Regions from separate parts of the Homo sapiens genome. Here all the other regions are linked to region 2. Evidence: promoter capture Hi-C in human tissues and cell types (Jung and others, 2019). All regions are on one chromosome and are shown on one strand. The core of a region is centred on a gene start or on the middle of the fragment in contact, and the rest is flanking DNA. Distances in the headings are between cores, read along the strand shown.

Region 1 (3,846 bases), core at 286-2,785, 190 kb after region 2:
CCTCTGAGGTGAATCCATAAACTTTTACAACTTGCACTTTCAAAGGATGATGCAAGGAGCAACAATTGCACCAGCTTGAGCCATTTGAGGGTGGTGTGGAATTGGAAACTGTGTCAAAGGCAATGGAACCCTGCCTCTAGCATCAGAAAGCTAAGCCTGTATTCAAAATAGATGCCTGCCAGGTGCAGTGGTTCACACCTACAATCCCAGTGCTTCAGGAAGCCAAGGTGGCCAATCCTGGTTTGAGGCCAGGATTTCAAGACAAGCCTGAGTCACATAGAGAGACCCCCTAACTGGGTGTGATGATGCATGCCTGTAGTCCCAGCTACTTGGGAGACTGAGGAGGATCACTTGAGCCCAGGAGTTCAAGATTTCAGTGAGCCACTGTACTCCAGCCTGCACAATACTGTGAGACACTGGCTCAAAAAAAAAAAAAAAAATGCCAGAGCAACATAAAATTGTAAGCATTCATTACCTTTCTGCCACCATGCATTGGGGAAAGTGGATCCCTCAGCTGATGCTGACCATTGGCAGACAGGATGGTGTGTGTGGAGATGGCGGGAGGGTCTTAGGGATGTGGGATGAACCCTGACACCATCTACTACCCCATCCTTCACTGCAGACCCAGTTCTACCAGTTCTCATCAAAAGGGTGAACTGCATCCCAAACACAGTCCACATTCTGTGGCTTCCATTCCTGAAGACATCTCCAGAAAGTCTCAGAAGAAAATTAAACTATATGAGAGAACAAATCTTTTCTATCGTATAATTATTACATGTTCTACAATCTGGGGTTAGATCATAAAACTGCAATTATGGGAAATAAAGGTCAAATAAAGAAGGAAAGAAAGAAAGACAAGAAGGAAGGAGGGAATGAGAGAAGAAAGAGGAGGGAATGAGGGAAGAAAGAGGAGGGAATGAGGGAAGAAAGAAGAGGAAAGGAAGAAAGTAAAAAAGGAGGGAGGGAGGGAAGAAAAGGAATAATCACAAAGAAGGAAGCAACGTCTCAGTTATTCTAGGCAGTTCATTACTATGAATCATCAGAACAAACAAGCTTACAAATCTACATTCCTAATTTGATGTGAAAAATCACATCACTGTTCTTATGAAATAAAGGATAGCAAAGTTGGAGTGTGGTCTCAACGTCAAGTTGCCAGGTTATAGTTCACCTCTATCTGCTTCTTCCTTTGTGGAACAAGGTGAATGAGAAAAGACATGTCAAAGAAATGTTTTCAGGGCCAACTGTGGTGGCTCATGCCTATAATCCCAGCACTTTGGGAGGCCGAGGCAGGTGGATCACTTGAGGTCAGGAGTTTGAGATCAGCCTGGCCAACATGGCAAAACCCCATCTCTACTAAAAATACAAAAAAAATTAGCCAGGTGTGGTGGTGCACACTTATAATTCCAGCTACTTGGGAGGCTGAGACACAAGAATTGCTTGAACCCGGGAGGTGGTTGCCGTGGGCTGAGATAGCGCCATGGCACTCCAGCCTGGGTGACAGAGTGAAACTGTGTCTCAAAACAAAACAAAACAAAAACAAAAAGAAAGAAATGTTTTCAGGATTAAATAAAGCCATACATGTAAAGCAACAAGCACAATCCTAAAAGGGAAACACGTTGCCTTGACTATTGTATGATTTTCATCCAATTTCTTCCAGAGGAAACAAGAACACAACCAAGTTTAGGTGAAGGGTGCTAACATGCAAATGGGTAATTTTTGAGGAAAGCATGTCATCATATCAGCACTCGATATGATAAGTGTTTCAAACAACACGTGAGAACTCTCAAGAGTGGCTCTAAGAAAATGGACCAAAGATGGAACTTTAAAGACTGTATATAAAACGGAAAAGTTAGAAGGAAATTACCAAGGGAGTTACTGAGAGAACCTAAAGTAAAAACATGTAGCAAAAGCCAAATCACAAGTGTTTTGGGAAGAGTAAAAATGAAGCATGTGATTTTCAGGAGAAAAAGAGCCAGGATATTTATTTCTTGTTTTCTTTTAGTTTTGTAGTTGTTGTTTTTGAGACAAAGTCTCACTCTGTCGCCCAGGCTGGAATGCAATGGCGCAATCTCAGCTCACTGCAACCTCTACCTCCCAGATTCAAGCAATTCTCCTGCCTCAGTCTCCCAAGTAGCTGAGATTACAGGCACCCACCACCACACCCAGCTAATTTTGCATTTTTAGCAGAGATGGGGTTTCACCACATTGGCCAGGCTGGTCTTGAACTCGTGACCTCAAGTGATCCACCCACCTCAGCCCCCAAAGTGCTGGGATTACAAGCATGAGCCACCAAGCCTGGTCGAGCCGGGATATTTAAATTCACATTTGCCTAATGGACCTACAACATCCACTTAGTTCTGAGACCTTGATCTGTCATGGACAAGAGGCTGGTCTGCTGAGGAACTGAATGTTCATGAGCAGGGCTCTGTCAAACATAATCTTGCCTTTGTGACCTTTTTATAAACCCAATGATCTCTCTGACAACCACCACTTAGACAGATTGAACCCTAGGCTAACACATTCTGCTGCCAAGTGGATGTTATTAATAAGGTGTTTCACAGCACAACAAACTAAACCCTTCCAAGAACAAACTCGATGCAAAGGAAAGTAGATTGAACCCTACTTTCTGCCATGTACAAAAATCAAATCAAATAAAAAACAGATCAACAGGCCTGGCGCAATGGCTCATGCCTGTAATCCCAGCATTTGGGTGGCCGAGGCGGGTGGATCACTTGAGGTCAGGAGTTCAAGACCGGCCTGACTAACATGTGAAACCCCATCTCCATCAAAAATACAAAAATTAGCCAGGCGTGGTGGCGGGCACCTGTAATCCCAGCTACCTGGGAGGCTGAGGCAGGAGAATCACTTGAACCCGGGAGGCAGAGGTTGCAGAGAGCCGAGATCACACCTCTGCACTCCAGCCTGGGTGACAGAGAGAGACTGTGTCTCAAAATAAATAAATAAATAAAAAGTCAATAGCTTAAATATAATGTAGCTAAAATCATAAAACTCTTAGAAAAAAACATACAGGAATATCTTGATTACACTTTATTTGGAAGCAGATTGTTAGATACAACAGTGAAAGCATGAGTAACAAAACAAAAAAATAGATATATTGAACTTCATCAAATTTTAAAACTTTTCTCTATCAAAATGTTCTGTTAAGAAAATGGAGCATGGTACCAATAGAAACACAGATACAAAGGACAATGGAACAGAAGAGGTGGTGCAGAAATGAATCAATGAATTTATGGCAAATCATTTTTTGACAAAGATGCCGAGAACACACAGTGGGGAAAGGACAGTCTCTTCCATAAATGGTGCTGGGAAAACTGGAAAACCACATGCAGAGGAATGAAATTAGCTCCTCATCTCAGGTCTCAGTAAACCTGAAAATGCAAAACCACTAAAAGAAAACATAGGAATAATCCTCCATGAAATTACACTGGGCAATGATTTTTTGGATAAGAACCCAAAACACAAGCAACAAAGGCAAAAACAGAAAAATGAGATTGCATCAGGCTAAAAAGTTCCCACACAGCAAAAGAAACAATCTATAGAGTGAAGAGACATCCTATGGAATGGGAGAATACAATTGCAAAATTAAAGAGGGGGCCTGGTGTGGTGGCTCAGGCCTGTAAACCCAGCACTTTGGAGAGGCCAAGGCAGGAGGATCACTTGAGCCCAGGAGTTTGAGACCAGACTGGGCCACCTAGGGAGACCCCATCTCGACTAAATTTTAAAAAAGAAAAAACGACCTATTCAAGAGGGAATATTCAGGCCAGGCACAGTGGCTCATGCCTGTAATCCCAGCACTTTGGGAGGCCAAGGCGGGTGTATCACTTG
Region 2 (3,809 bases), core at 195-2,694:
TTGATATTGGCATAAGTAAATGTATTACTGGCATAGAGTCTAGAATCAGATACAGGTATACATAGGAATTTATAGTTTAATAAACATGGAATTTGAAATCAGTAAATCAAGGACAGTTTATCAATATGTGGTACTACAATAATTGGCCGTGTTTCTGGAGGAAAGAGATATTGTATCCACTATCCCACACCACATACTGAAACACATTCCATGAGTATGAAAGATTTCAATGTTTTTAAAGTAATATGCTGCAGAAGAAAATTAGGAAATCTATATGTAATCTAGAGTTTATGAAGACTTCTTAATGCAAGAGAGGAAACTTAAAAAAGAAAATCTTTTTGAGTTGAAAAATTAACTGCAAAATAGTTACCAGTTCAGTAGATTCACAAAATATTTGATAATGTACATGAACAGTTCTTCATGTTAGTAAAACAGTGTTCAAAATAACTTTATTAACTCCATAAAGGCCACCCACTACAAAGCACAGCAAAAACGATTTCTGGAGAAACTAGAATCACTCCTGCAGAAGTGAATGCCTGATATCAGTGCTATTTTACAACGCGGTATTTTACAACGAGGCCCTGGAACTCACTGTAAGATCTCAGAAAACAATATATTAGTCAAAGAAAAAAAAATCAACATTTACAAAAAGTATCAGCATATTGAATACACAAAGGAATCAACTATTAGAATTTAGCATGGCGTCCAGATAAATGAAATAAGGGGAAATATTGGCCTCAAGTTGAATTGGGCCCGGCGCCGTGGTGCACGCCTGTAATCCCAGCCTTTTGGGAGGCTGAGGCGGGATGATTGTTGGAGCCCAGGAGTTTGAGATCAGCCTGGGTAACATACCTCAACTCTGGGGGAAAAAAAATTAGCCGGGCATGGTGGCCTGCGCCTGTAGACCCAGCTACTCGGGAGGCTGAGGCGGGATGATGGCGTGAGCCCATGAGTTTCGCCCCACAGCACGCCAGCCTGGACTACACAGTGAGACCCTGTCTCAAACAAAAACAAAATAAAAAACTAAAACTAGATTGAATGAATGGAGGAGATAGGCCATATCATGGACTGGCAGGATTATCAAAGGAAGCATCATTTTGAGGGTGCTAGGAACGTGGGAGGAGGTGAGAATAAAAGCTTTTTGTGAGCATTGTGCACATCCTGTGGGGGAGCCCCCACCTCTAACTTTGCCAACACCACCGACCCCACCCTAGGTTAGCCCCGTCCGCAGGGCTGGTTCTAACCTCAGCCTTGTGCTCTGGGCCCCTTTTGGCCTCCATCCCTCAAGGTGAGCAGACTCCAAGGCCTCCAAGGCGTCTCCGTAGCCACTGGGGAGTAAACCAGAATCTCTCTGCCTGAGGTTGTTCAGCTCGGCTGAGGTTGCAGTTCCCGAGCGCTCCTCCAGGTTTGAGGCTGGAGGCGGAAGTGACGTCACGGAGCGCTGCTGTGTTTTCCGGCGCTTTCTCCGCGCCGCCAAACCCGTTTTCTTCCTGGTGGCGTTTGGGCTTAATACAGCTTTGGCGAGGTCGGATGACGGGTGGGAGCCAGCGGTGGAAGGGGTGGCGAAAGTACCGGTTTGCCCCAGGCCGCCGAGGGGCCTCCTTAGAGAGACCTTGCCTGCTCCGCTCGCGTCCGCCGGGGCCGCGCGGGTCCTCCTGGCGCCGCCAGGTTCAAAAAGCCACTCGAGTTGTCACTGCGACGGCCCTGGGCCAGGAGCCGTTTCGGGATCTGTCGTAAGGGCGCTTCCTCACGATTTTTGCAAACACGGTGATTGCCGCTTCAAACTCTTCCAAAGCAATTCTTTGTGACTTTTTTTTTTCCAGAAACAACGAGTTTTCGTCGTTCGAATCAGGTTGACTGGTCCTTCATCCCCCCAATCTCCCGTACCTGGCGAGTCCAGCTCGTCGCGGTGAGTACTGGGGTGAAAGTTGGTTTCGGGGGCTTCTTCCTCCTGTTTTATCTGAGAATTTGTTTTTCTCTTTGCGCATCCTGTATTTACTTTTGACACTCTACATTCAGGTAGAAACATAAAGCTATTTTTTAGGTATCTGGGGTGTGGTTATTTCTCTATGTGAATATAAACGTTTGTAGACCAGAAGTCTTTCTACTGAAGAAAAGCAAGAATACTCAGCTATTCTTTTTATCTGAACTTCCTAGGCCTGTACCTCCCCACAGAGCTTCAAAACGGGCTTTTAGGAAGAAGGAATGGAGGCTTTGAAGTAAGTTGAACATTGCAGGCGTGACACTTAAGGTTTAAATGCTTGGTAATACGTGTCCTGTGGATAAAGACATGTCCTTTTAAAACCATAATACTATTACCCCAGAAAATTTAAAATGTTGTTAATATGTACCCTGTGTAAAAAGGTACAGTTCTCCACTTTGTTCCAATATATGGTTTTGATTGTTTTGGGATCTATTACGTATCCAAGTTTCATGTCTTTTAGTCTCTTTAAAACTAGCAGACACTGTTTATCCGTTATATTGTCTTTTTGCGCAGTCACTCGTTCTTTCAGAAAGTTATACATTTTGGTAGTTCTGATTGTATTCTGTGCCGTGTTTAAATGTATCCTTCATTTATTGGTGTATCCTGTAAATGGATGAGTGTCTGAATGGTTAATTAAGGCATAGTAAAAAAATTCAGCCTAGGGCTGTTCTTAGGGAGGTTGTAAACTAGTGGAGGAGGCTGTCATGTAACCAAGCAAATAAGTGTATTACAAATTGATGAAGGTCTGTAAGTAAAGTAGAGGACAGAATTATTTTCTCTATTTTTCTTTGGAATAGGCAATGCTAAGAAAAGAGTGATATGCAAGCTGAGACCAAAAATATGGTATGATTTAGCCATACTGAAGGGGAAGGAAATAAGAGCTGGGCAAAGCATTCTGTGAATTGGCTGACTCCACTTCTATGGTGAGAGAGAGGAGTGCATCAAAGATTACTCCCAGGTTTGACAGAGTCAGTATTCTTTCTTTGGTTGGGGAAACAATGTGGTGGGATAATTTAATCTTAAATGTATGACAGGAAATAGTAAGTGATATCTTTTGGGAGACAGAGTTTCGCTGTTGCCAGGCTCCAGTGCAGTGGCAGGATCTCGGCTCACTGAAACACTGTAACCTCCACCTCTTGGGTTTTCAAGCCATCCTCCTGCCTCAGCCACCCTAGTAGCTGGGATTACAAGTGTGCGCCACCATGCCTGGCTAATTTTTGTATTTTTGTATTTTTTTTTTTTTTAGTAGAGATGGTTTCAGCATGTTGGCCAGTCTGGTCTCAGACTCCTGACCTCAAGTGATCCACCCACCTCGGCCTCCCAAAATGCTGGGATTACAGGTATAAGCCACTGTGCCTGGCCAAAGTAAGTGATATCTGACAAATGATGTAAATCAAGGGAAAATAGGAGAAGCATGAATGTGTTTTAATTACATGAATAAGAAATTAATTCAAGGGATTAATGAGAATCAGTGCTTGATCACTGAAAAATAAGCTCTCCATGAAAATTCACTGATGTTAATTATTAGTCTTAGGAAATATGTATATTCATAAACAGACAAAACTTCTCTCGTTGTTTTTTTCAATTCACTTTTGGGTTCCTTCTCCTACCTAAATTAGTCCTTCGTTTCCCTGAAGGAATGTCCAGAGTAAGCACTCTGCGTGACTCCTTATAGACACTCATACACCTAGGGGGTTGGCTTGATACAATCCATGTAAGTAAATGACCAGAAAACTCACCTGCCAATGTGGGCTGCCAAAAAGCTGTGAAGGGGCCACATGGCCTGGAAATACAACAGATCTTAGAATAATGTCTGTTAATTATA
Region 3 (3,930 bases), core at 1,113-3,612, 220 kb after region 2:
CTAAAATAGAAAAGCTAGAAAATAACAAAAGAGGAAAACCTCATGATAGTGGTCTGAGCAGTGATTTTTTTGGATATGACCTCTGAAGCACAGACAACAAAAGCAATAGACAAATGGAATTACATTAAACTAAAAATCTCCACACAGCAAAGGAAACAGTAGAGTGAAGAGACAAACTACAGAATGGAGGAAAATATTTGCAAACTAGACATGTGATATGGGGCTAATATCCAAAATACGTAAGAAGCTCAAACAACTCAGTAGGAAGAAAACGACCCAATTTTAAAATGGGCAAAAGACAGCCTGGCGCGGTGGCTCACGCCTGTAATCCCAGCACTTTGAGAGGCAGAGGAGAGCGGATCACGGGGTCAGGAGATCGAGACCACCCTGGCTAACACGGTGATAACCCCGTCTCTACTAAAAATACAAAAAAGTAGCCGGGCGTCGTGGCAGGCGCCTGTAATCCCAGCTACTCGGGAGGCTGAGGCAGGAGAATGGCGTAAACCCGGGAGGCGGAGCTTGCAGCGAGCGGAGATCGCGCCACTGCATTCCAGCCTGGGTGACAGAGCGAGACTCCGTCTCAAAAAAAAAAAAAAAAAAAAAAAAAAAAGGGCAAAAGACCTGAAAGACATTTGTCAAAAGAAGACACACAGATGGACAACATACATTTTTTTTTTCTTGAGACGAGTCTCGCTCTGTCACCCAGGCTGGAGTGCAGTGGCGCGATCTCGGCTCACTGCAAGCTCCCCCTCCCGGGTTGAAGTCATTCTCCTGCCTCAGCCTCCCAAGTAGCTGGGACTACAGGCGCCCGCCACCACGCCCGGCTAATTTTTTGTATTTTTAGTAGGGACGGGGTTTCACCTTTAGCCAGGATGGTCTCGATCGCCTGACCCTGTGATCCGCCCGTCTAGGCCTCCCAAAGTGCTGGGATTACAGGCGTGAGCCACTGCGCCCGGCCCAACATACATTTTTAAAAGGTTTAACTTCACTAATCATCAGGGAAATGCAAATGAAAACCACAATGAGATATCACCTCACTTCATCTCAAATGGCTATTACTAAAAAGACAAAAGATAGTAAGTGCTGGCCAGGATATGAAGAAATGGAAACCCTTCTACACTGTTGGTAGGAATGTAAATTAGTACAACCATTATGGAAAAGAGTATGGAGGTTCCTCAAAAACTTAAAAATAGAACTACCATATGATCCAGCAGTCCACTACTGGGTATATATCAATAAGAAACGAAGTCAGTGTGTGGAAGGGATATCGCACTCCCATGTTTATTGGAGCATTATTCACAGTAGCCAAGACACAGAATCAACCTAGTTGTCTGCAAATAAATGAATGGATAAAGAAAATGTAGTATATATACACAATGGAATATGATTCATCCATAAAACACAAGGAAATCCTGTCATTTGCAACATGGATGAACTCAGAGAACATTGTGTTAAGTGAAATAAGGGAGGCACAGAAAGACAAATATCACATGATCTCACTCATATGTGGAATCTAACGAAGGTGATCTCAGAGAAATAGAATCCAGATTTCAAAGAAGTAGAATGTTGGTTACCAGACCCAGAGTGGTTTGGGGTTGAGGAGTAGTGTTGGTGTTGTGGAGATGTTAGTAAAAGAATACAAAATTACAGCTATATAAGAGAAGTAAGTTCAAGAGATCTATTGTACAGCAGGATGACTTTAGTTAATGATGATATATATGATATTCTTTGAAAATGCTAAGAGAGTGGATATTAAGTGTTCTCACCAGGATAACGACTCTGTGAGATAATGCGTATGTTAATTAGATACATTGAATGTCCACAATGTATATATATTTCCAAATATCAAGTTGTACATGATACATACATATAATTCTATAATTTAAAAAAATATATAAAAATAATTTGAAAAAATATTTAAAAAGAAAAGACATTTTTGTTTCCATGAATTTTCAACACCGAGGGATCCATAAAATCTCCAAAGACTCTTCAAGGGAGTCACATCGCTTGGAGATGATTCCTGAGTTTAGTTCCTTGCAGAAATTAATCTTTCCTTAGGGCAAAACTTGTGACTTTCAAATTAAACCGAAGAAAGAATTTCTTCTTGGGGGAAATAAATCCATCATGCCCTACCACTGCCTATTTCATCACAAAATTAACTGAAAAATTTCCATTCTATCATCTTCTTACTACTCAAAGGGAGCCAAACTCTTTGGAGAGTGGGAAGAAAATAGAACAATTTATTTAATAAGGTGCTCTGAGAATTCAACTCTTGAGACACTGGAAACTTAAAATGTGCCCCTGTTTAAACAACCTCACCTGTAATTCTCTGCTCCCAGCCTTTGGAAAAAACCCAGTACGGCTTCCTAGGAACAGATCGTGTAGAAGAGAAAACTTCAGTGATAACCATCAGAGTTAGTGTGACCCAGTGAGGGCTGGTGGGGTAAGAAGGAAAAGAGGAGAGAGAATAAGTACTAGCCTTCACAGTAATGAGCCTGGAAAGTCCCATACTTATTGAGTCTATGAAGGTGAAGTCCCTGTACTTTGATGGTACTTTAGTTTTCACAGAAACCAGTGTCTCCCACCTTCTGTTCTCACTCCTTGGAATCCAGGGCCCGTCTTTAATAAGTTATTTTCCGAACAGTCTCTAACTCTCCTGCACTCTTTCCTATAAACTTTAGTCTCCTGTTGAATTTCGTACATCCAGTTACTTATTCATTAACTACTCACGGAAGATCTACTATGCTCAAGGTATTGTCTATGTGTTCCTAATGTGATTGGATTTTTCTATTATATTCTATATTTTTCCTGGCAGATTATTGGTTACCAGACCCAGAGTGGTCTGGGGATTGGGGGTAGGGTTGATGTGGTGGAGATGGTGACTTATTTACAGCACTTACTAGCTGTTATGTTTTTGCTATTTCAACTTAGTATCCATGATATCATATAGAAATAATACAATTATTTCTGACATTCAACATGCAGTCCAATTTTTTTTCTCATATTAAAAATCCCTTGGCTGAACGTAGTGGCTCACATCTATAATCCCAGCACTTTGGGAGGCCGAGGCGGGCAGATCACTTGAGGCCAGGACCCTGAGACCAGCCTGGCTAACATGGCAAAACCCTGTCTCTACTAAACAATAACAAAAAAAGAAAGCCTGACACCTTAGCTTACACCTGCAATCCCAGTTACTCGGGAGACTGAGATGGGATAATTGCTTGAACCCAGGAGGCAGAGGTTGCAGTAAGCTGAGACTGCACCCCGCACTCCAGCCCAGGTGACAAAGTGACACCATGTCCCCCCCAAAAAAAAATCCATTTGCATGTTCACCAAAATATCAAAAGATTGAAATTGTAGTAGACGGCCTTTGGTGTATCCAGGAATTTAAACCCCTTACTGTTTTAACATAGCATATCTTGTTGCCTGTGGTATTAAAACAACCATTGTTTATCGGGTTAAGCAATTGTCCTTGGTTTCTTCCTTTATTGAGAGGATCTGCCCTGGTTGATAATCTTTTTCAAATGCATTTTTTCTATTGTGATTTTGTTTATGATTTCTCTTTACTGACCTGTTTTTGTGATGAATTATGCAGACATTCTTACATTAAACCTGCTTCCATTGTTAGAGCTGGTATTACTACTTCATTTATCATTATTTTAAAAGAGATATGAATATGTTATTTACTGTATTATTAAATTTATGTCTATATTCAAACATGTCTTAAACTTGAAGATTTCTATTTTGTGTTATAGTTGATGCTTTGGTCCCAGTCTTTATAGAACATTTCAATTTGTACTTGCTCAGAATCAGTAATGTGCTGGGCACCACGTAAATCCTTGTTAAATGATGAGACAAAACAATCGCAACCACTGTCTAAAACTAAATATAAGTTGACCAATGTGAAAGGGACAAGGAGGAAGAATATAG

The links. Contacts are between HindIII fragments. The study calls those that stand out against the background at their distance.
Region 1: a contact is called between a fragment that was not itself captured here and the fragment with the promoter of ZNF266 in region 2, in 5 of the 25 tissues and cell types used here (H1 embryonic stem cells, liver, lymphoblastoid cells and 2 more).
Region 3: a contact is called between the fragment with the promoter of OR7D4 here and the fragment with the promoter of ZNF266 in region 2, in 3 of the 25 tissues and cell types used here (heart left ventricle, mesendoderm cells and thymus).

Annotation. Positions count from the first base shown.
Region 1 is chr19:9,239,939-9,243,784 of GRCh38, reverse strand. It overlaps a transcript of OR7E24 not described here. Among named protein-coding and RNA genes, the nearest start is that of OR7E24, 9.1 kb to the left of the region's middle. The HindIII fragment of the contact is 9,125 bases long and covers 1-3,846 here.
Region 2 is chr19:9,433,208-9,437,016 of GRCh38, reverse strand. ZNF266 (zinc finger protein 266) reads left to right here and starts at 1,444. Exons shown (of 11, transcript NM_001370374.1): 1 at 1,444-1,733; 2 at 1,824-1,909; 3 at 2,158-2,219; 4 at 2,782-2,942; 5 at 3,231-3,349. It overlaps LOC105372269 (a long non-coding RNA gene), which reads right to left and starts at 1,376. Exons shown (of 3, transcript XR_007067133.1): 1 at 1,245-1,376. RefSeq lists an enhancer at 1,524-1,653. The HindIII fragment of the contact is 27,667 bases long and covers 1-3,809 here.
Region 3 is chr19:9,218,021-9,221,950 of GRCh38, reverse strand. OR7D4 (olfactory receptor family 7 subfamily D member 4) reads left to right here and starts at 2,362. Exons shown (of 2, transcript NM_001005191.3): 1 at 2,362-2,751. It also overlaps a transcript of OR7E24 not described here. The HindIII fragment of the contact is 21,358 bases long and covers 949-3,930 here.